Linked DNA regions of Homo sapiens: regions 1, 3 and 4 are each linked to region 2. The links are contacts of gene promoters, found by promoter capture Hi-C in blood cells and fetal thymus (Javierre and others, 2016). All regions are on one chromosome and are shown on one strand. The core of a region is centred on a gene start or on the middle of the fragment in contact, and the rest is flanking DNA. Distances in the headings are between cores, read along the strand shown.

Evidence for each region. The method cuts DNA at HindIII sites, captures the fragments that hold promoters and counts their contacts. A CHiCAGO score of 5 or more calls a contact.
Region 1: a fragment that was not itself captured here is called in contact with the fragment with the promoter of ZKSCAN2 in region 2 in 4 of 17 cell types (fetal thymus, naive B cells, activated CD4 T cells and 1 more); the score reaches 6.4 in fetal thymus.
Region 3: a contact is called between the fragment with the promoter of TNRC6A here and the fragment with the promoter of ZKSCAN2 in region 2, in 2 of 17 cell types (fetal thymus and total B cells). The highest score is 5.8, in fetal thymus.
Region 4: a fragment that was not itself captured here is called in contact with the fragment with the promoter of ZKSCAN2 in region 2 in 1 of 17 cell types (activated CD4 T cells); the score reaches 5.1 in activated CD4 T cells.

Annotation. Positions count from the first base shown.
Region 1 is chr16:24,548,827-24,554,231 of GRCh38, forward strand. It overlaps RBBP6 (RB binding protein 6, ubiquitin ligase), which reads left to right. Exons shown (of 18, transcript NM_006910.5): 3 at 119-155; 4 at 4,687-4,731. Among named protein-coding and RNA genes, the nearest start is that of RBBP6, 12 kb to the left of the region's middle. The HindIII fragment of the contact is 522 bases long and covers 1,062-1,583 here.
Region 2 is chr16:25,253,950-25,259,417 of GRCh38, forward strand. ZKSCAN2 (zinc finger with KRAB and SCAN domains 2) reads right to left here and starts at 3,896. Exons shown (of 7, transcript NM_001012981.5): 1 at 2,780-3,896; 2 at 1,257-1,443. The coding sequence starts at 3,178. It overlaps ZKSCAN2-DT (ZKSCAN2 divergent transcript), which reads left to right and starts at 3,628. Exons shown (of 1, transcript NR_170220.1): 1 at 3,628-5,468. RefSeq lists enhancers at 3,262-3,822, 4,238-4,557, 4,678-4,757 and silencers at 3,508-3,747, 3,828-4,027. The HindIII fragment of the contact is 3,031 bases long and covers 2,993-5,468 here.
Region 3 is chr16:24,727,490-24,732,855 of GRCh38, forward strand. It overlaps TNRC6A (trinucleotide repeat containing adaptor 6A), which reads left to right and starts at 2,162. Exons shown (of 25, transcript NM_014494.4): 1 at 2,162-2,357; 2 at 2,764-2,811. The coding sequence starts at 2,353. RefSeq lists a silencer at 2,191-2,500. The HindIII fragment of the contact is 6,808 bases long and covers 1,118-5,366 here.
Region 4 is chr16:24,565,253-24,570,796 of GRCh38, forward strand. RBBP6 (RB binding protein 6, ubiquitin ligase) reads left to right here. Exons shown (of 18, transcript NM_006910.5): 15 at 1,891-2,253; 16 at 2,540-2,641; 17 at 3,493-5,247. Among named protein-coding and RNA genes, the nearest start is that of RBBP6, 28 kb to the left of the region's middle. The HindIII fragment of the contact is 2,311 bases long and covers 1,829-4,139 here.

The DNA.
Region 1 (5,405 bases), core at 73-2,572, 710 kb before region 2:
ATACCAAAGGAAAATTAGGTTCCTAAAAATGTATTATTGAAGATAATGTGTTAAAATTTATTAGCACAAAAATTCATAAATAGCTAATGTTAATTTTTGTTTTTATTTTGTGTTTTAGAAGTCGAACTGAACCAGCGATGGCAACTACAAAAGCAGTATGTAAAAACACAATCTCACACTTTTTCTACACATTGCTTTTACCTTTATAATGTAGCAGTGAAGTAAATCATTTTAGAACTTAATATCCAACTGATCATAGTACATATTGTAAATAAAATGTATTTTGATGACAGCTCAGTTGAATATGGATAATATGTGGCATCACTTGCACACTTATTTTGTAGAAATGGGTAATTTGTGCCCGTAACACTGTTTCATATTAAATATGATAGCATTATCCCTGTATGACACTGTGTTGTACAGTTAATGTATGATCCTTTTTAGATCGTTTAGGTTTTACACTAAGGAACATGATGACATGTTCTACATTTGTCTGTCTATAGTTAGTATTTTGTATGTATGTACAGGCTGTTGTGTGCTTTTTGTTTCTTGCAATAAAAAATGTTTGGAGTGTATATTTTGCCATTTTCACGTTGTATCACTTAGTTTTTGTTAGTTTTTTTTTTCCTGCCTGATTTATGGCTTCCAAAAACGCATTAGCAACATGCAAAGCTTATATTAAAGTTTGATGCTTTCTCCAAGTTCAAACACATCATAGAAAAGAGCTTTCCAGAGACCATTGATGCAGCTTTATTATTTAGTCTTGCTTTATTTGGCATTTTGAGCTCCTTCTTTTGTTTACATCTGTACTATAAAGTGAAACCTGAACCTGGGGCCCCCTATGAATATATAAGTGTCTTAGTGATTTTGAGTTTATATAAACTGATTATATTGTTTTCAAAGTTTAATGAGATCTTCCACTTCTATCTAGTTAGTGCAGATGTCCAAATTAAAATATTTCCCTCTTATACTAAAATGCTGCGTTAATTTTAGGCCATTGAAAGCTGTACCTTATCAGAGGTAACTCCCCTTAACCAGGATAACTGGTTTGAAGAAAGTTAAGCTTAATTTTTGTAATCACAGATTAACTTAATTTGTGATACCATTTTAACTTTGAGCTCTTAAGTAAAAAGTAGCAGCATTCCTAAGTTGTGGGGTGAAGCATCTGTTTCATAACACAGGTCTATCATAATTGGGTTCTGTAAATGTAATGGTTCTCTAAACATTTTAATGCCCAGGCTTGATATTGTACACAATGCAAGATGTCTAAAATCTTCATTTAGAATTCAAGGGTATTGCTTGCTATTTCACATTATATACTTTTTAAATACTATTGCTCTTTGTATATGAGGCATTTCACTAACCTTGGATCATTGGATCTTAAACATGATAATATAGAATATCTGAACATTGGACTTGTTCTTTAGAGTATATGGCCTTTAGTTCTTGTGGAACTAAATACAGTGATTCTAAGATCAAAAGTCTTAGTGTTTGGGGTTTTTTTTTCCTCTTTTTGGATATGGGGTGTTTTTTTTTGTTTTTTTGTTTTTTTTTTTTAAGCATAATGCTGTAAAAACTGTCCAAGCTTATGTTTTGCTGGTGATTGGTTTAAAACTGATTTTTATGTATCCAAATGCTAGCATAAATTAGATTGACTATCCTGGTGACTGTAGTAGTTAATGTAACACATTTTGTATAAAGTACAGTTTATATAGTATTTAAACTAATTCAGATGAAGTTTTATTTCTTGAAAACAGTTATTTCCTTTTTGTTTATTAGCATGTGTATAAACACAAATCACATGTTCATAAATAAAGTTAACATTCTTTTAGCCTTGTGTGTTCCGGCATGTCTGTATTACATTTATAAGAAGCAGTTTATTTAAGCTTATTTAGGTTTCTCTTTTCTTTTCTTTTTTTTTTAATACTTTAAAATTGGCTTTAATTTTTAGGTAGAATTATCTGAAATAGAGATATTAGATAACCTTGTTGTCCCCATCATTTATTTGCTTGGGGTACATTTGCTGGCATTTAAGATGAGAATATATTCATCAAGCATAATTAGTGCCCATCTTAGGAGATTTAGAGTCACGTGGATTGTACACATTCACAAAAGCAAAGTAAATAGAGGCGCTAAGCCAAATTTTTCTTATCCTGATTAGTAAAGTAAATGTATAGTTTTGGTAATGGAAGCGAACTCTAATCAAGAATGGATGGCTGTTTCCATATTCCCCAGTCTTGTTTTTAGTCATCCATCCATGTTGATACCCCAAAGCTGGATGTTCTTCTTGCTAACTAAATATCAGAGTGGTATTTTATAGGATTCTTTAACTTCAAAAAGCTAATATAATTGGCATAAAAGATTTTAGATCCTTGCTTCCCAAAACAAGACCCCTAATTAGGTACAGGGAGGTGGGTTAATTTTAATGTCTACGGTCTGCATCAGTCCGTTTTGTGAGGACTTTAAGTGGCAGACTTTTTTTTACCATTAGTATCTTACCAAGAGTCACTATTTTTATTGATGTTTAGTAATACAAATTCCTAATCATTTTTAAACCATTCTTTGTCAACATTTTTTGCTCATTTCTGAACACCTTGCTATATGTAGGAAACATTTGTTTGCTTTTCTAAATTTGAGGTAAATTTGACTTCTTTGTGGACTATAAGATATTTAGGGGCAATAGTGATTACTTGGTGGTAAAAAGGTGATTTAGGTGCAGTTGCATATCTAAAACCACTTCAAAGTCAATAAATACATAATACTAATAAGTTAGCAGAAAGCTTAAAAGCACACAAAAGCCCAGCATAAAAACAAAAAGGATACTATATCTTAAGTGTTAGGAGTGGGAAGATTTTTTTTTTATTCTTAAGTTTTTTAGTTCCAGTGGTAAGAAAGTTAATATAATTGTTTTCTTTCCAAGGAAATCATCAGTATTTATATTCTATTCTAGATAGTAATGGGCTATTTTTAAAGACTATTTGTTTTATTGGTTAGAATGTAGTATAGATGATGGTTGACAGCAATTTGTCTAGTCCTTGTTACTTAAAATCAAGTAACTTCTGGTTGGTATAAAATCTTTAAAATAGATTGAGTAGGTCAGAACTTATTTTAGATAAAAAGAGATATGTATTATTTAGAGGTTTTTTTCTACTTACCACTTGAGATTAGTTCTTAAAGGAAAAAAATACTTAAAAGCTGGACAAAAATGATAACCCATTGGCAAATTATGTAGATATGCATTAAGTTATAGGGTTAGTGCATCATGAACTCTTTTATAGTCAGTTCCTTAATGTGGAGCAAAGAACCTTTTGTCTGAATAAACATCCCAGTAATATCCATCAAATTAACTTTTAAAACCCTAAGATATTTGTGAGATGTGTCTTATATTTAGCCAACATTATTTTTTATTTACATTTATTGAATCCCTACTGTGTGGGCATTGGCTAAGAACTTCATATTGAGACTGGTTACATTTGTCTTTGGGGCTCTTAAGTCATGTTGCTTTTATTTTAAAACTTTTGGTTCTCTGGAACAGAATACCTGATGAAGACTTTTTTCTTTGATCCAGACATCTTGTTACATTCTCCATTTTAAATGAAGAGTTCTGACCTTACGACATGTTAACTAAGCAACCCACTTACTACGTAGGAAGCTGTAGGGAAATCATATCTTCAAGATTGTTTGCTAAAGATTTTTTTAAAAACTGATATTAAAATCATTTCAGAGGATCAAATGAAAAAAATTAGTGTTCAATTTAAAATACATTTTTATTTTTATTTTATTTTGAAAGAGAAATGTTTTATTCCTCTTTGCACAGAACAGTTTATGAAGGTGGCTCTCTCCTGACTCCATACATCTTTTACACAAAGATGCCTCTTCAAATATGCCCAGTTATCTCCCCCTCTTCAGTGTTAGAGAATTGGCAGTTAGTGAGTGGGGCAGAATGCTTAAGGCTCATTAAAATACCTTTTTTAAAGCCCTCTTATATCCTTTATGTACACTTGCTCTGTGTGATTAAATTAACTTTCTTCAAATATTAGAGTCCATCATAATAAGTGACAGCTCTGTTGGCCTTCTCCTCAGGGTGCCATTGTTTTCCCTTTTTTTGACTTAACATCTTTGCCCTGAGAAAGCTGTGGTTTCTTTGACAAGAAGCTATTACTCTTTGTATGAGAGAATAAACAAACTTACTCAGACTGAAGAGTATGTTTTCAAAAATTAAAGAAGTAGCAATTATATGGGAGCTGTTATTTATTAAAGCAATTATCTGAGCCCTTAAAGGGCTGTTTGTTTTTACAATGTTGTATAATGGCCTTGCAGGAAAATTAGATTTCTTATTCTCTCTTCCAGTGTACATTGTCTTGAGTATTGTCACATTTAGAGACCATAGGGAGATATGGGACTCCTAGTATTCAGTCGACACTCTGAACAGATTTTCTGTGTGATACATTTTTTCATTTTAATTGAGTCCCCTCTTCCTCCCCTCCAACTGATAGCTTTTTATAACTGTGTGAAATATCTAGAGAAGAATGAAGTAGGCTGAGCTACATTTTCAAGCTTAACATTCTTTAGAAAACTAAGAAAATGCCCAATATTTCAACATTAAGGTGTCAATAGGGGCTAAATGATCACTTTAAGATGTTTTCAGTTTGGAACTTGAATGTGTGTTTAATTTTTTGTGAACAGATTGATGACTCTTCCGCGTCTATTTCTCTGGCCCAGCTTACAAAGGTATATATATATATATATTCTTGAAAATATAAGTTTTTTTCTAACATCATATTTTTTTATGTGGAACGGTTTTTTAAGAGGGGTTGGGGGAGGACATATTTTGCAAAAGCATTGTACATATTATTACTATCCTGTAAAGAGTAGTTGCTGTTTTGAGAAGATAGGGGAATACTTTGTCAGCCTCAGCGTATTGGAGTATTGTTCATCTTCAAGACAGAAGAAACACTTGAAGCTACACTTAATTATTTTTTTTCCCTCATACATTTTGTTTAATTATACATTGGAAACTAACAAGGTTCTGGAGGAATTTCCTGGTTTTGGCTATAAATTATGTGGACCTTTTTTAAGCAGCCAAAACAGAAGATTTCCTTTACACGGACGATTGCATGGTTATTTCTTGAATATTTGACTTGATCCCATGAAGGTCAATATTTTAAATGTGATGCAGTTGTTTCTTTATGCTATAGACTTGTAGTCTGTCTGCATTAGGAAAAGTTTTGAACAACCTAATTTGTTTGAACACAGACTACATGAATTGTGTAAGTGTGTAAAGCTGTTTGCAGGAATATACCAATGTGTATGTTTGGCAGAGGGGCAAATTGTTACCTCCTGAATCACTGTATATGCCATGTTTTGCGATAAGATTGCTTGCATTTTCTGCTCAACAATGTGTA
Region 2 (5,468 bases), core at 2,646-5,145:
GTGAGCTGAGATCGTGCCACTGCACGCTAACCTGGAACAAGACTCCACCTCAAAGAAAAAATAAAATAAAATAAAATAAAATAAAGATGAGAGAATGGAAAGCTTGAGAAGTTAAGTATCCTGACCAAGGCCACATAGATAAAAAAATGGCAGAGCTAGGTTTTGAATCTAGGTCTGTCTGTCTCTAAAGCCTAAGCTCTTAGCCTCTGTGCATTCATGCGTCTTTTCATATTATTTGCCCAAGATCACAGACAGAAGGTGGCAGAGACAAGATATAAACAGAAGACTTCTGACGGCAGGTTTAGTGATGTTTCCATTCCTCTCTTTAAGACTGAGATGAAGCCACACTTCAGGAGATGGAGAGATCACTGTGGACTGGGAAGGACAGGGTATTCATTTCCTAGCATTTGACCTGAGTCATTAATGTGCAGGGCAGCTATGAATGTCAGTGGTCCCTTCCCTGTGAAATCTTAACTGTTTATCTCTCTTGTATGCCACTTCTGTGATGGCCTGTGAGTCAAACTTTGAACACAAATGCCTTGTTCCCTTTCAAACAGCTTTTTGACTTATTTATAGTCAGCCAAGAGCACATACACATGGCAGGACTGAAAAACACATGATGATTGTAGAATGTAGATCTTATTTTATTTTTTTGTAGAGAAAATGTGTTTGTCTCGCTATCTTGCCCAGGCTGGTCTTGAACTCCTGGCTTCAAGAGATCCGCCTGCCTCGGCCTCCCAAAGTGTTGGGATTACGACGTGAGTCACTGTGTCCAGCCATGGAGAGTTTACCACCACAGGATCTCATAGCTGGCCCAGGCAATCTAAGTTTCCCCAGTTTGGATCTTTTTTTTTTTTTTTTTGAGACAGGGTCTCGCTCTGTCACCCAGGCTGGAATACAGTGGTGTGATCACGGCTTACTGCAGCCTCAACCTCCTGGGTTCAAGCAATCCTCCTGACTCAGCCTCCTGAGTAGCTGAGACCACAGGTGCACGCCAACACACCTGGCTAATATTTTTTTTTTTTTTGCGATTTTGTAGAGACTGGGTTTTCCCATGTTGCCCAGACTCAGTTTCCATCTTTATGATACCTTTTCACTTATATTGCACATGTTCCTAATTCTTGAAGTGAATGAAACCTTTCTCCTATTCTGAATATGTATCAAGGAGGCCCTCCACTGCACATTCACAGCGTTGGGGTACTGCGGAAATCTGCCCCAGCCTCTGCACTAGGCGTGCTCCGAGTCTTCCCTCTTACCATTCTTGGGTAAGGGCCGACGTTCTCGCTTTCGGTTCAGCTGTTCCTGGTGTCCTGAGTGGAGGCTTCCAGGTTCCTCCCGAGACACCGCCCTGGGTTGGGTCTCCACCTGCTCTGGCTGGAAGTCTGCCACCTCCCACGCTGCTCCAAGTGGGGAGTGCTTCTCCCGGTGCACGGGACTGCTGACCTGAGAAATGAAGTCAATACCATAAGAGGGAGTAAAACAGGCCCATATCAGGGCGAAATTCTCCCAGGAAAGACATCAAAGAAGGACAGAGACATGAGAAGGAATGAAAATTCCACTCCATTCCCAGTGGAGTCTCTGAGAGCGCTGGGCTGAGAGTACTGTCCAGCAGTCTGGGTGTAAGGTAACAGAACAGTGTTCTTTTTTCTGAGACAGAGTTTCACTTTTGTTGCCCAGGCTGGAGTGCAATGGCACGATCTTGGCTCACTGCAACCTCCACCTCCCAGGTTCAAGCGATTCTCCTCTCTCAGCCTCCCAAGTAGCTGGGATTACAGGCATGCACCAACACAACCGGCTAATTTTATATTTTTTTAGTAGAGATGGGGTTTCATTATGTTGGTCAGGCTGGTCTCGAATTCCTGACCTCAGGTGATCAACATGCCTCGGCCTCCCAAAGTGCTGGGATTACAGATGTGAGCCACCGCGCCTGGCCAGAATAATATTTAATACTAAACAGAGAAGGAAATCTGTCAGGAGTGAAAGAGCCTCCTTGTTGCTAGAATAGATATTATTTGACTCTATATCTGTTACGTTCGCAAAGAAGTTACCAGGACATGAATATATACAGTAGTGAAATGAAAACTTACAAAATTAATATCCACATCTATCTGTCTATCCCTGACCAATACAGCAACCTGCTGATAGATCTCTACACAATGCAAGTCTGATGCAAGGTGAAACCGCAAATCTTGCAAATGCTGCAGGATTTCACGAGGTTCATGAAAGTGAGGTTGAAGAACAACTAGAAGAGCATGCAAGCCACTGAGAAATGAAGATGTGGCAGTTAGACTGGAGGAGAGTGACAGAAATGAAGGCATGAGAGCACTTCAGAAGACACTGAGTGCAACAGTAAAACGCTTGGAGACGGCTCTGGGATAACGGATGAAGTCTTTTTTTTTTTTTTTTAAAGGGGGAACAGAATAGCCTTTTTTGATCAAAATGCGTAAGTGAACCTCTGTGACGCAAAACCATATTGTTCTCTTATATTGTTTTGTTGCAAACATTATGCCAAAGATGACGATAAATGCTTAGGTGAATAATGTCTGGTTTCCATTGTAAGATAATATTTCAATCAAAGCTTTTATTTTTCTATTTCATGTGAAATTCTGATCCCCTTTTAAGTGGATTCACTTAAAGTGAAAAGACCCCCTTATAGGGTCTTTTATTAGTACCATTTATCTTTCTCTGAAGAGCACGTCTTTCTGCAATACATCCCTGCCCACATGCCTTTCCCATTCCCTTTTTTCTAAGTACAAAAATTTGGAAAATCCTCTCTCACCTGCTGTCTTAGTCTTCCAGTCTCTTTCTCCAAATGCACTACCAGGGCCACCGCTTCCTCTCCACTTTGCGGACACTGCTTCTGTGCCCAAGCCTGAATCTTCTCGGGTAAAATGGTGAGAAACTGCTCAATCACCAGCAGCTCAAGTATTTGCTCCTTGGAACGCATTTCTGGCTTCAGCCACCGGCAGCAAAGTTCCCAGAGTTTACTGAAAGCTTCATGGGGTCCAGTCACATCCTCATAACAGAATTGCCTGAAGCATTTGCGGAAGGTCTCAGAGCTATCCGATCCTTCCAGAATGGGCTCTGATGCCCACTCAGGGTCCTTTTCCACCTTCATTATTAGGCATCCCTCAACCTCCAGGGGCGCGTCGATCTGAGAGTCGAGGGCGACAGCCATGCTGCAGCCCAGGGGTCAACTTCACGTCTAGCTCAAGGTGGGGACCCAAAGAAGACTCCAAGCGCTCCCTGCTTAATGTTCCTGGGAGTGTGATAAGGTACGGAGGTAAAAACGGCCAGGTCGGCAGGAACAGGGTATTCCAGGCTGATTAATCAAATCTATGCCAGGCCCTTGAAAAGGTGAACGTATACTCTAAGATGCAAAAGCCTGGCCTCTTCTCCAAACAAGATGTGACCGCGCAATGTGGTTTTCCAGAGTGCATCCCTCTTAGTGCAAAGTCGGAAACCGGGAGGCTGGACGACTGGGAGAAAAATGAAGCAGGCTGAGGAAAGGCTGGGCGGAGGCGGACAGCCGGGCCGGGAGGGGGTGTGTCCGCTACTCCCGGGTCGGGCGCGGAGAGGCGAGTCCCCGAGTGGGTGGGGCCGGATGTGCAGGCCCCGCCCGGCGCCAGGTTCCGGGCTCGGGTCACCGCAGCACGTCCAGGCCGCCGCGGGTGCCGCTGGGGCCGCCGGATTCCGAGAGCGGCGCCGGGCTCTTTCGGGCCCACGACGGCCCCGACCGTCCTGAGGAAACCGCTGCCGCCGAGGAAAGGCCGCAAAAACTGTTCCGCCCGGAAGGGAGAAGAGCTGCGGGGCGAAGCCAGGGCTCGCAGGGGGCAGCGGCAGGCTGCTCGCGTTCGGCCTCGTCCACTCGGCCCGCGGAGAGCGCGGGGGGCGCTGGGAACCGCAGTCACGCATGCGCCGCCTGCCACCGAGCGCCGCGGGGCCCGCGCGAGGCGTCCTGGCGGGCGAGGGGCTGGGGGAGGGGGGGGGGGCCGTGCGGTGGACTCTCGCGAGAGCGCGCGGCGCGGTGACTCGTCGCTGAGGGACTTTAAGATTGTAGAGGGGCGCGGAGGGTCCTCCCCGGGGCGGAGGGACACAGAGGGATTCTAGGGAACCTGCCGTCGCGAGTCCCGCTTCAGGCGGAGAATCTAGGCGGCGGCGGGGCCTCCCTGAGGCGGAGGAGTCGGCACCGGGGCCTGGCTGCCGGGGAAGGAGAGCACGGGAGCGGGGACTCCTGTGTCTGGCGGAGGGACACGGCGTTCCGGTGGAGGGATCTGTTCCTTGTACCTGGTCCAGGGTTGCGGTCGGGGATGGAGCGGTTACCCCGACCCTGCGGGACCTTCTTCCTCTGGCGGAGGTGCACGGCGCGGCGTGGTGTTTTTCTGGCGGAAGTATCTGTGCGTGGCCCCAGGCCCTTCCCGGCGCGGTCTCATCTGGGGCCACTTGTTGGCCCTCGCGTTGGGGAGGTTCATGTGGTGCATCCTGATGAGAAGGGGGGTCACAGGGGTCTCGGGGCCAGGGTTCAGCCAGCCAGGCCCCAGCTTGCTCTCTTCTGGTGCTGCCCCTGTCCCTGAATTCATAGACCCGGCTTTCCCTCTCTTGAGCACCTACTATGTGCCAGGCTGCGCTTTGCGCATGTAGCAGAGGCAACAGTGTCACCTGGGAAGCTGGTTTCCCCCAAAGGAACTCTTGTCTGTCCGTTGTTGCAGAGCCAGCGCATGAGACCAAGTGTGAGTATCAGGCAGTGCAGCCTTCATTCAGTGGCCATGGAATTGGAGAAGTGGGAGGGTAGCTCGCAAATCAAGCTCTCAGCTCTTGGAAACTGAGAAGTTACAGGTAATAGGGAGTGTTGACGAAAAGTAAAACCGTGCAAAATATTTGAAGAGATTTATTGTGAGCCAAATACGAGTAACCACAGCCTGTGATACAGCCCTCTCGAGGCCCTGAGAACATGTGCCCAAGGTGGTCGGGGTGCAGCTTGGTTTTATGTTTTAGGTTGGCATGAGACATCAGTCAAATACATTAAATACATTGGTTTGGTCCAGGAAGGCGGGACAACGCAAAGGGGTGGGGGTGGGGGCTTCCAGGCTATAGGTAAATTTAAATATTTTCTAGTTGACAATTGGTTGAGTTTGTCTGAAGACCTGGGATTGATAGAAAGGAAGTGTTCAGGTTAAGATAAAAGATAGTGGAGACTAAGGTTCTTTTGAAGTCTTATGGTGGCTGCTCTTAGAGATAATAGATGACAAATGTTTCCTATTCAGATCTTCAAAAGGTGTTAGACTTTTAGTTAATCCGTTTAGGATTGGGAGGGCCTGGAAGAAAAACATCTAGCTATGTTAATAGATGTTCTTTACAGATGCACATTTTACCCCACAAAGGATAGCTTTTGGGGGAAAATGCTGTCCTTTATGGAAGAAATTGCAAAATAGGGCAAGGAAACATGTTTTGGGGTAAAATATTTTGAC
Region 3 (5,366 bases), core at 912-3,411, 530 kb before region 2:
TACCAATCAGTAGCATCCAGTGTGACAACCAAAAAGTTCATTGCTAAATGTCCCCAGGGGTAGGGATGGGGGCAACATTGTCCCAATTAAGAATCACTGAGTCATTAAAACCTAAAAAAGTCTAATAAAAAAAAAATCAGCCAATCTTAACAGCTGTGCAAATGTTGATAAATATGACTGTTTTCATTGCCTTATGTTGTTGTGAAAAATTATTCCTAAACCTGGTATGAAAGCATATTGTGCCATTACGTATATGTTCATATTTTTAAACTCCTAATGAAACACCATAGTAACTTTTAAACATTTTAAGTAGAAAGGATTATGAAAGAAAAACAAATATGTGTGTAGGTAAATGAACCTCAGGGATGATAGCAGGAAAAGGAAAGTCACTAGCATTTATTCGGTGCCCACTACATTTTATATTTTGTAAACCTGATTTTTTTTTTCAAAAAAGTGTTTTTTATATGCTCATCGCAAAAAAGAAAAAAACAGATACACTAAAAGAAGAAAATGAAAAAAAGTCATAATCAGTTAACGTTTTGGTGCATATGTTTCATGACTTTCTGTGCATTCATTCACTAGCTTAACCTATCGGAGAGGACAGGAACCCAACATGTCTAGGGAAGTTTTGTTTGTTTTTAACGGGAGAGATTCAAGCATGTTGTAAAGCCAGTTGAAGCTGGGCGCGGTGGCTCACGCCTGTAATCCCAACACCTTGGGAGGCCGAGGGGGGCGATCACCTGAGGTCAGGAGTTCAAGACCAGCCTGGCCAACATGACGAAACCCCGTCATTACTAAAAATACAAAAATAGCTAGGCGCAGTGGTGCGTGTCTGTAATCCCAGCTACTTGGGAGGCTAAGGCAGGAGAATTGCTTGAACTCGGGAGGCGGAGGTTGCGGTGAACGGAGATCGCGCCACTGCACTCCAGCCTGGGAGACAGAGCGAGACTCCGCCTAAAAAAAATGATAATATAATAAAAAAATAAAAAAAAAAGCCAGTTGAAGAACTTAGGTTAGAAAAAGGAGAATGGGATGATCCACAGAGTGGGGTTTCTGAGAAAGTAAAGGTTATAGATTTTAAGCACAGAGGAGGAATTATCTTTAAATTAGAAGAAAAAGCTTGATGAGAGGTTGGAAAGAACACACGCAAGTGAAAATATGTATCTTACTGTATCTACATGTATGTGTATTGTTGTATCTACCTGCAGATATGTATGTCTTATTGTATCTACATGTAGGTATGTATGTATACTTTTAATGTACACATATGCATCTGTGTCTACATATATACATATCTTAGTCTATCTACATGTATGTATCTTACTGTGTCTACACTAAGATGTTTCTTACTGTGTGAGCTACGTTGGAACCTGCTTTTTCATTTATTCTATTGCAACCATTTCCTCCATGCCGGGATTATTCCTCCACATCATTTTTACAGTGTCCTAATACATGCCAGTAGCTGTTTTTGAAGCCATCTAGTAGCGCTGGACATTTTGGCTGTTTGCAATTTTTCACCATCATCAATACCACAGCTTAGTATCTCGAAGGTGAAATATTTGCAGATACCCAGAATTATTTCCTGAGCAGAAAATCCGTGCAGGCGGAACTGCTGAGTCAAAGGTCGGTGGATAAAAATCGCTTTTAAGCCTCACAACCCGCCTCAGGTATGCATTCTTTACCTGAGGAGGAACAGAGAAGCAGAGAGGTTAAATAACTGGCCCAAGGTCAAAAATAATTAGAAGTGGCTGAATTCAAAAGCCGCGCGGGCTCATCAGGCTGCAGTTGGGGTAAAATTTGCGTTTTAGGCAATTTTTTTTTTTTTTTTTTTTGGCGTGTGTCAGTGGGGGAGGGGCCGGGCGGCGGGTAGGAAACTTGTGTCGCAGCAAAGAAGGAGGAGGAGGGGAGGGACTCCCCTCCTCGGTCAGACCGGAGCCGGCCGCACCGAAAAAGGTTGGACTCGGGACTCCGCAGGCCCCCCCAGCCACTCCGCGGGGCGCCTCGGAGGCTGTGACCTCCAGGGAGGTCCGGCTGGGTGCAGCGTGACACGCCGGGGCGGTTGCCAAGGACCTGCCCAATCTGCGGGTCCAGTTGCTAGGGCCTCCATCTTGGGGGCCAGTGGCCGTGGCGCCCCCGGAAGGGGTTGCCGAGTGGGGCATTCACTTCCGGTCTGGGGCCTGCGGCGGCGGCGGTGTCGGCGGCGGCGGCGGCGGCGGCGGCGGCGGCGGCAGCGGGTCGGTGTAGAAAATGGCGCTGGTGCAGCGGCTCGGGCCTCTCCCCGCGGCGCTGCGGAGGGCTTGAGGCTCGCGAGCCTCCTTCGCCGCGCCCCACTTGCTCGTGCACTTTACACACATGAGGTGAGCGGAACAAGGGCCTCCCTCCGGGCGGGAGGAGCCGCGGGCGCTGCCGCAGGGCCCGCAACCCGCGGCGGCGGCAGCAGAGGCGGCGGCGCCGGGCGTCCCCGAGACTTCGGGCCTCGGCGGGAGGGCGCAGGCTGCGTTGCTGCGGAGGCCGAGCGGGCGGCCCGGGGGAGCCTCGCTGCGCCGCGCCGCGGGGGCCAGGCCGGGGTTGCGCCTCGCCCGCGCCGCGGGACCGCAGTCCGGGCTGCAGCCCCGCAGCTTTGTGAGTCCCCCTCCCCCCGTCCTCTCCCCTCCCCCATCCGGCCCCGGCGCGAGCCTCTGCCGCAGCAGCTCCGTTTTCACGCGCATCTCGTTTTTGTGTGTGTGTTTTTGTTTTGTTTTTGTTTTTGTTTTTTTGTTTCAGAGAATTGGAAGCTAAAGCTACCAAAGACGTAGAAAGAAATCTTAGCAGGTAAGATGGGCGAGCTTTCCGTCTCCCGCCCCACGATAATCGTATATTTCTACTCCGATTCGCCTTTTCTGGGTTGAGAAGTTCCCCCGTGACATTTTCTTCCGCACCCGGAGAGCAGACATTCGGGAGAAGCGGCCTGGGGGAATACTGGAGGGATTGCGGGGAGATGCGTAATTACGCGTGTGTTTCTTTCTTTAAAAAAAAAAAAAAAAAGCGCAAAGCAATTCTTGTAAACTTAGTTAAAGCATTCTCACCCTTTTAGAATTTAATTAGGGGACTTGTGCATTAATTACTATTGTAAATGGTTGCAGGCATTGTGTGACTCATGATTGAGGCGGCCCTTATGGCGGGCTGTCAAACTGTTTTGGCTTCCCCGTTATTACTTTGTAGCTCAAATTGTTGCTTTTATAAAAAGATACTATGTGTTCGCATTCCCCCCCGCCCCCCCCCCCCCCCCATACATTGTAGTCAGGCGGATTCTGTTGCATTGGACACAGTTTTGTCCTTGAACTTTACCAAGCATAAGCTGCGTTTTGTTTTCCTTCGAAACTCCATTTCTGTCCATGTTCGGTGTGTGCTCTTTTTATCAGCTGGTAAAATAATTAAAAATCTTTTCTCCAGAAGAGGTTATCGTTCCTGTTGGGCCCTGCTGCTTTTGCATCACCGTGAAGGGAGAATTTTTTTTTTTTTTTAAACGATGTCTTTATGGAATGGAAATATTTAGCTTCATTGAGCTGTAATTGCTTAAGCATCAAGGAATTGTACTGTATTTAACTCCTTTTCACATTCATTTTCTTTCCTACCGTCTTTTCCTTTCTTATTCCCCTTTTTCTTTTGCATCATATTGGGACACTCAGGGAAACTTAGCCAATTAACCAAATCCGTGAATAGCTTTCTTTTTTTCTTTTTTTTCACTTGTTGAAAATAAAATGAAATTTCTCCTATCTCAGGTTTTAATGTAGTTTGCTCTTGATGATTGCGGGTTTTAGGTTTACATTGGGGTTTTTAACACTCACATTTCAAATCGTCTGAATATTTTGCACCGCGTAGAATTGTTCCAAATTGCTGGCCTATTGAGTTTCATAAGATACTAATCTGTTCAGGTGATCGTTAAAGAATGTGTTCAGATGGTGAAGGATAGGCATCATTGGTTTACCCAGTAAGGGATTCTCTGTTACTCAAAATAATTATGGGATCATTTAAAGGAAATTAAGTCTGACATCACTGACTATTTGTGGTATATTTACATAAATTTTGTCAAAATCTAGTAAGGAAATGTTAAGATATGAAACCATTAAAGAAAACAGGTTGAGCCATTAAGGTGTAATATCAGCAGAACAGAGCTTAGAGGTCTGTTTCTCCTTCCATTTTTGTTTTATCAGGTAACTATATCAGTATAATTCCTATGAAGGTGCTCTAGTACTTAATTAAAAATTGTCTGTGCCACAGGTATAATTTTAATATTAGGTAGAACTCGAGTCTGGGTTGGCTATTTATCAGAGTTTGAATTCCAGCTCTGCTACTTGCAATATGACCTTGACTCTTGGCAAGTCACTTAGCCTCTCTGTCCAATCTATAAAACGAGCGGCGTGGGCCAGCCAGTTGCTGAGGTCTGTTAGGCCCTTTGGGTTACATAAAAGGAGTAAAGTGCTGTCCGTGTTCACAGAGGGCATGTACAGTCTAGTAGAAAGACTATCATAAATGCATAAATAACAGTAGTACTAGGTAGATGACGTAGGAATCAAAAGATACCATCCCATTCATGTGCTTGAGAATATTCAGTCGGTCAGAAGGCATGAAAGGAAAAACAAATATCAAAGAGATTGTAAGGCAGTGTGTACTAAGGATCCAATGAGAGGGGAGCATTTCTTGCAGGTTAAAAGTGTTCTGAGGAAGGAGAGAGGTGATTAGGTGGGCAGATGCTTCCTTCATCTCCATCTCTAGCTGTGTTTCCTTTTTCACAAAAAAGAATGTATCTGTCTTTACCCATAGTGCTCTCTCCAGGAAATCAAGGCATTGTATTCATTGAGTAACCATTTTTTGAGCATTTTCGATATTTCAACTGTGGGACTGGGCACTAAGCCAGGGAAGAATGTAAGTAGTTAAATTTATTGATTGCTTACTATGTGCCTGGCACACTTTTCCTAAGATTTTACATGGACTCATCTGATCCTTGAAAAACCCTGTGAGGTAGGTAGTATTGTTATCTCCGTTTTACAGATGGAGAATTTGATGTATAAAGAGGTTAAGTAACTTGGAGGAGACCATATCACTGGTAATTGGAGTAACTTTTTAGGCTTCGAACTTGCAAAATTTGAAAATTTCTTTTGGTAGGCGGGACCCACAGATGCATGCAATACTTCTAGATCAGTTTTTTCATCTGGGCACTTGACATTTTGGACCAGATAATTTATTATTTTGAGGGTTGTTCTGTGCATCACAGGATGTTCAGCATCCGCAGTAGCACTCCCCGTCCAGTTGTGACAATCACCAATGCTTCCAGATATTGCTAGATGTCCCTGGGAGTGGCGCAGAATCGACCCTGGCTGAGAACC
Region 4 (5,544 bases), core at 1,734-4,233, 690 kb before region 2:
TATTTCTCTTCTAGACCCCACTGTCCCAATCATCTCCCACCGTCTCTTTTCCAAAAGAAGAGACAGGAGATTGTTAGAGGCTCCTGCCCTAGTGGGCGGGTACAAGCAATATTAATCTAAGAAGTAAGAATCTTACTGTCTAGGTCAGGGGTCCCCAACCCTGGGCCACAGACCAGTATCCATCCTTGGCCTGTTAGGAACTGGGCAACACAGCAGGAGGTGAACAGCAGCTGAGCGAGCATTACCACCTGAGCTCCACCTCTTGTCAGATCAGCAGTGGCATTAAGATTCTCATAGGAGCATGAACCCTGTTGTGAACTGCGTGTGCAAAGGATCTGGGTTGCACGCTTCTTAGGAGAATCTAATGCCTGATCATCTAAGGTGGAACAGTTTTTACCCCCCTGCCCCCGTCCATGGAAAAATTGTCTTCCACAAAACAGCTCCCTGGTGCCAAAACGGTTGAGAACTGCTAGTCTAGGTCATAATCACCACCAGGATAAAGGAGCCTCCAAAACTTCATAACAAGAGTTTTGGCCAGGCATAATGGCTCATGCTGGTAATTTTAGAGCTTTGGGAGGCTGATGGGGGAGGATTGCTTGAGGCCTGAAGTTCAAGATTAGCCTGGGCAACATAGCAAGACTCTGTCTCTACCAAAAAAATAAAATAACCAGACATGGTGGCATGCACCTGTGGTCCCAGCTACCTGGGAGGCTGAGGCAGGAGGATCACTTGAGCTTAGGAAGTCAAGGCTGCAGTGAGCTATAACCACATCACTGCACTTTAGCCTAGGGGACAGAGTGAGACCCTGTCTCCAAAAAGAAGGAAATTCGGGATATCTTCTAGTGCTTCATTGCTAAACTTATGAAAGTTTACTATGTCATTACTGGATCACATTTTAAAAGAAGGTAATAGTTATTCATGGCTCACTGAAAAGATGCTTAAAATCTAAACCCCTACTGTTGCTGTTGTGTACCAATTATTTATAATTTAAAGCACCTCTAGTTTAACAGAAGTAACCAGTTCTGTTTGGTGAGGCACAAATTAGAAACTTAGCCAACACTGTTATTTTTACTTAAGCTTTTGAGAGAAAGCGTTGATATTTTCATTGTTAATTATAGAAGTTAAAACTAGAATTTATTCTGCTTTGTATGATCTTTACCCACTTCCTCCCTCAAAAAAGAGGTTACAGGAGTTGGTTTTCCTTCATTTAAACTTTTGGGGCCAGGTGTGGTGGCTCTCACCTGTAACCCCAGCACTTTGTGCAGATCACCTGAGGTCAGGAGTTTGAGAACAGCCTGCCCAACATGGTGAAACCCTGTCTCTCCTAAAAATACAAAAATTAGCTGGGCATGGTGGCACACGTCTCTAGTCCCAGCTACTTGGGAAGCTGAGGCAGGAGAATTCGCTTGAACCCAGGAGGTGGAGGTTGCAGTGAGCCAAGATTACACCACTGTAGTCCAGCCTGGACGACAGAGTGAGACTCTGTCTCAAAAAATAAAAAATAAATGAATAAGTAAGCTTTTGGGGAGAGCTAGGTCATAGCAGCATTAACCTGTCAGTGCCTTCAAAAGACAGTTTAGGAAGTAACAGGTAGTAATTAGTGGAGTGATAATCAGTCTGAACTTCATAAAAGAGAACTTTTAAATACAATATTTCCGTGTAGAGAAGGTCCTATAAACTTGCATCATCTCAGTCGAGACATGGCCTTAAAAATTATGTTGTAGAGTTATTTTTACAAATAAATTGTACTAATGTTGCTACACTAGTTGAATAGTTGGTTCTATTCCACTGTTTTTAAGTTTGAAAATAATTATGGATAGAAGAGATAAGCTTACTTGTCTCAGATGACTTTAGTTTGAAGAAGTAATATCTTGGAATTTATTTTTCCAGAAGTATAAACCGTGGGCGACACCACAGCGAAAGATCACAGAGGACTCAAGGCCCGTCACTACCAGCAACTCCAGTCTTTGTACCTGTTCCACCACCTCCTTTGTATCCGCCTCCTCCCCATACACTTCCTCTCCCTCCGGGTGTTCCTCCTCCACAGTTTTCTCCTCAGTTTCCTCCTGGCCAGCCACCACCCGCTGGGTATAGTGTCCCTCCTCCAGGGTTTCCTCCAGCTCCTGCCAATTTATCAACACCTTGGGTATCATCAGGAGTGCAGACAGCTCATTCAAATACCATCCCAACAACACAAGCACCACCTTTGTCCAGGGAAGAATTCTATAGAGAGCAGCGACGACTAAAAGAAGAGTATGTATTCTAATTTGAAATTATTATACACTTTTTTCATTTTCTGATAATAACATTAAATAGGTGTCTGGAAACGTTTTCCAGTGTTTCCAGTTAGTATGAGAAATTCACCTAAAATTTAAACCAAAGCCATACAAGCAACTTCTCAGGGATTCCTAGTTTATAGTTTTAAAGTGGAAAACTAATGGCAATTTCATTCATTTCATTCATGATCTAATTACATTTGTCTTGTTAGTTTTCTTAAATGGTTTTTGTTAACTTTCACTCTTTAACTTTATTTTACTAGGGAAAAGAAAAAGTCCAAGCTAGATGAGTTTACAAATGATTTTGCTAAGGAATTGATGGAATACAAAAAGATTCAAAAGGAGCGTAGGCGCTCATTTTCCAGGTTAGTGTTTTGCAAGCCTTCACAACAGAATTACAAACGGGACTTTGAATATCCAGGGATTAGCTATGGATATAAAGAACATTGCACTTAGGAATTTTTCTGATTCGGTCTAGGTGTATAGAAGTGAAGATGTAGCTTATTTCCCAATATCTGTTCATTGAAATAATGTCTCAGTGTAAATTTTATTGTGTAGAACTAACAGTTGTGGGGATTAAATTGCCCTTGTCCCTTAAAGTTATTCATAGTATCAAATAATTGGGAAATGTTTTTGGAAGGAAAGAAATAGGGGAATAGCCAAAAAACAGTTCCCAGGACCCTTTTACCATAAGGCTACAGCTTCTTGCTGGAACATTAACCTGCGTAATTATGAAGTAGTAGTAGAATACAGATCGCTTTATTGATAGAAAAAGTGAATTATAAAAATTCCCTGGAAGTTTGTTTAAAAGACTTTATTTTTTAGCCTTACACTTGAAATGTGGTTTCTTTTAAAACTAGGCTGTTGGCCAGTATAGGACAAAAAACAGACTCCTACTTCAATATTCAGATAGGAAGTGAAATTTAAAATTAATTGACATTTTGTTTAATGTTAGTTAGCTCATATAACTCACGGTACATTAATGCACTTCACTCTAATTGTTAAGACTTCACTTTTGTTTTGTAACAAGTGATTGCTCCGATTTGTGTACTTTATTCCATTCCAGTAGAGGTCACTGTGCCTCTTTAATCATCTAAGATGAAATTTGATATAAAGATAGATGAAACCGTGAGGAAAGAATGCTAGAATCTGAGAGTCTGTGTTTTATTTTGTATGTATTTCTCAACTATCAACTATTGTTTTGTTTTGTTTTTAGGTCTAAATCTCCCTATAGTGGTTCTTCGTATTCAAGAAGTTCATATACTTATTCTAAATCAAGATCTGGTTCAACACGTTCACGCTCTTATTCTCGATCATTCAGCCGCTCACATTCTCGTTCCTATTCACGGTCACCTCCATACCCCAGAAGAGGCAGAGGCAAGAGCCGCAATTACCGTTCACGGTCTAGATCTCATGGATATCATCGATCTAGGTCAAGGTCACCCCCTTACAGACGCTATCATTCACGATCAAGATCTCCTCAAGCGTTTAGGGGACAGTCTCCTAATAAACGTAATGTACCTCAAGGGGAAACAGAACGTGAATATTTTAATAGATACAGAGAAGTTCCACCACCATATGACATGAAAGCATATTATGGGAGAAGTGTTGACTTTAGAGACCCATTTGAAAAAGAACGCTACCGAGAATGGGAGAGAAAATATAGAGAGTGGTATGAAAAATATTATAAAGGTTATGCTGCTGGAGCACAGCCTAGACCCTCAGCAAATAGAGAGAACTTTTCTCCAGAGAGATTTTTGCCACTTAACATCAGGAATTCTCCCTTCACAAGAGGCCGCAGAGAAGACTATGTTGGTGGGCAAAGTCATAGAAGTCGAAACATAGGTAGCAACTATCCAGAAAAGCTTTCAGCAAGAGATGGTCACAATCAGAAGGATAATACAAAGTCAAAAGAGAAGGAGAGTGAAAACGCTCCAGGAGATGGTAAAGGAAATAAGCATAAGAAACACAGAAAAAGAAGAAAAGGGGAGGAAAGTGAGGGTTTTCTGAACCCAGAGTTATTAGAGACTTCTAGGAAATCAAGAGAACCTACAGGTGTTGAAGAAAATAAAACAGACTCATTGTTTGTTCTCCCAAGTAGAGATGATGCCACACCTGTTAGAGATGAACCAATGGATGCAGAATCAATCACTTTTAAATCAGTGTCTGAAAAAGACAAGAGAGAAAGGGATAAACCAAAAGCAAAGGGTGATAAAACCAAACGGAAGAATGATGGATCTGCTGTGTCCAAAAAAGAAAATATTGTAAAACCTGCTAAAGGACCCCAAGAAAAAGTAGATGGAGAACGTGAGAGATCTCCTCGATCTGAACCTCCAATTAAAAAAGCCAAAGAGGAGACTCCGAAGACTGACAATACTAAATCATCATCTTCCTCTCAGAAGGATGAAAAAATCACTGGAACCCCCAGAAAAGCTCACTCTAAATCAGCAAAAGAACACCAAGAAACAAAACCAGTCAAAGAGGAAAAAGTGAAGAAGGACTATTCCAAAGATGTCAAATCAGAAAAGCTAACAACTAAGGAAGAAAAGGCCAAGAAGCCTAATGAGAAAAACAAACCACTTGATAATAAGGGAGAAAAAAGAAAAAGAAAAACTGAAGAAAAAGGCGTAGATAAAGATTTTGAGTCTTCTTCAATGAAAATCTCGAAACTAGAAGTGACTGAAATAGTGAAACCATCACCAAAGCGCAAAATGGAACCTGATACTGAAAAAATGGATAGGACCCCTGAAAAGGACAAAATTTCTTTAAGTGCGCCAGCCAAAAAAATCAAACTCAACAGAGAAACTGGGAAGAAAATTGGAAGTACAGAAAATATATCAAACACAAAAGAACCCTCTGAAAAATTGGAGTCAACATCTAGCAAAGTTAAACAAGAAAAAGTCAAAGGAAAGGTCAGACGAAAAGTGACTGGAACTGAAGGATCCAGCTCAACTCTGGTGGATTACACCAGGTAGCTGAGTGTAGGGGGTGGGTGTGGAACTTTGTTGGGAGAAGGATTTTCTTCAGTTTTATCCATGCTTGTGCTTTTTATATTAATTATGAATGCTGATCTAGGGAAGTAGGCTGGTTTTATGTAGTCTTTTGTTGTCTTTGAAGAAGGGAATTGCCAAAGACAAGGTTGTAAATAGATTTTGGGGGTGAGCCACATTTGTGTTGATACAATCATAATCTTAAATTGTGTGTCTTCCTTAGGGCAGAATAAGTTTTTTGTTTTTTTTAATGTTAAAAGGACATTTGTGTTTAAGTT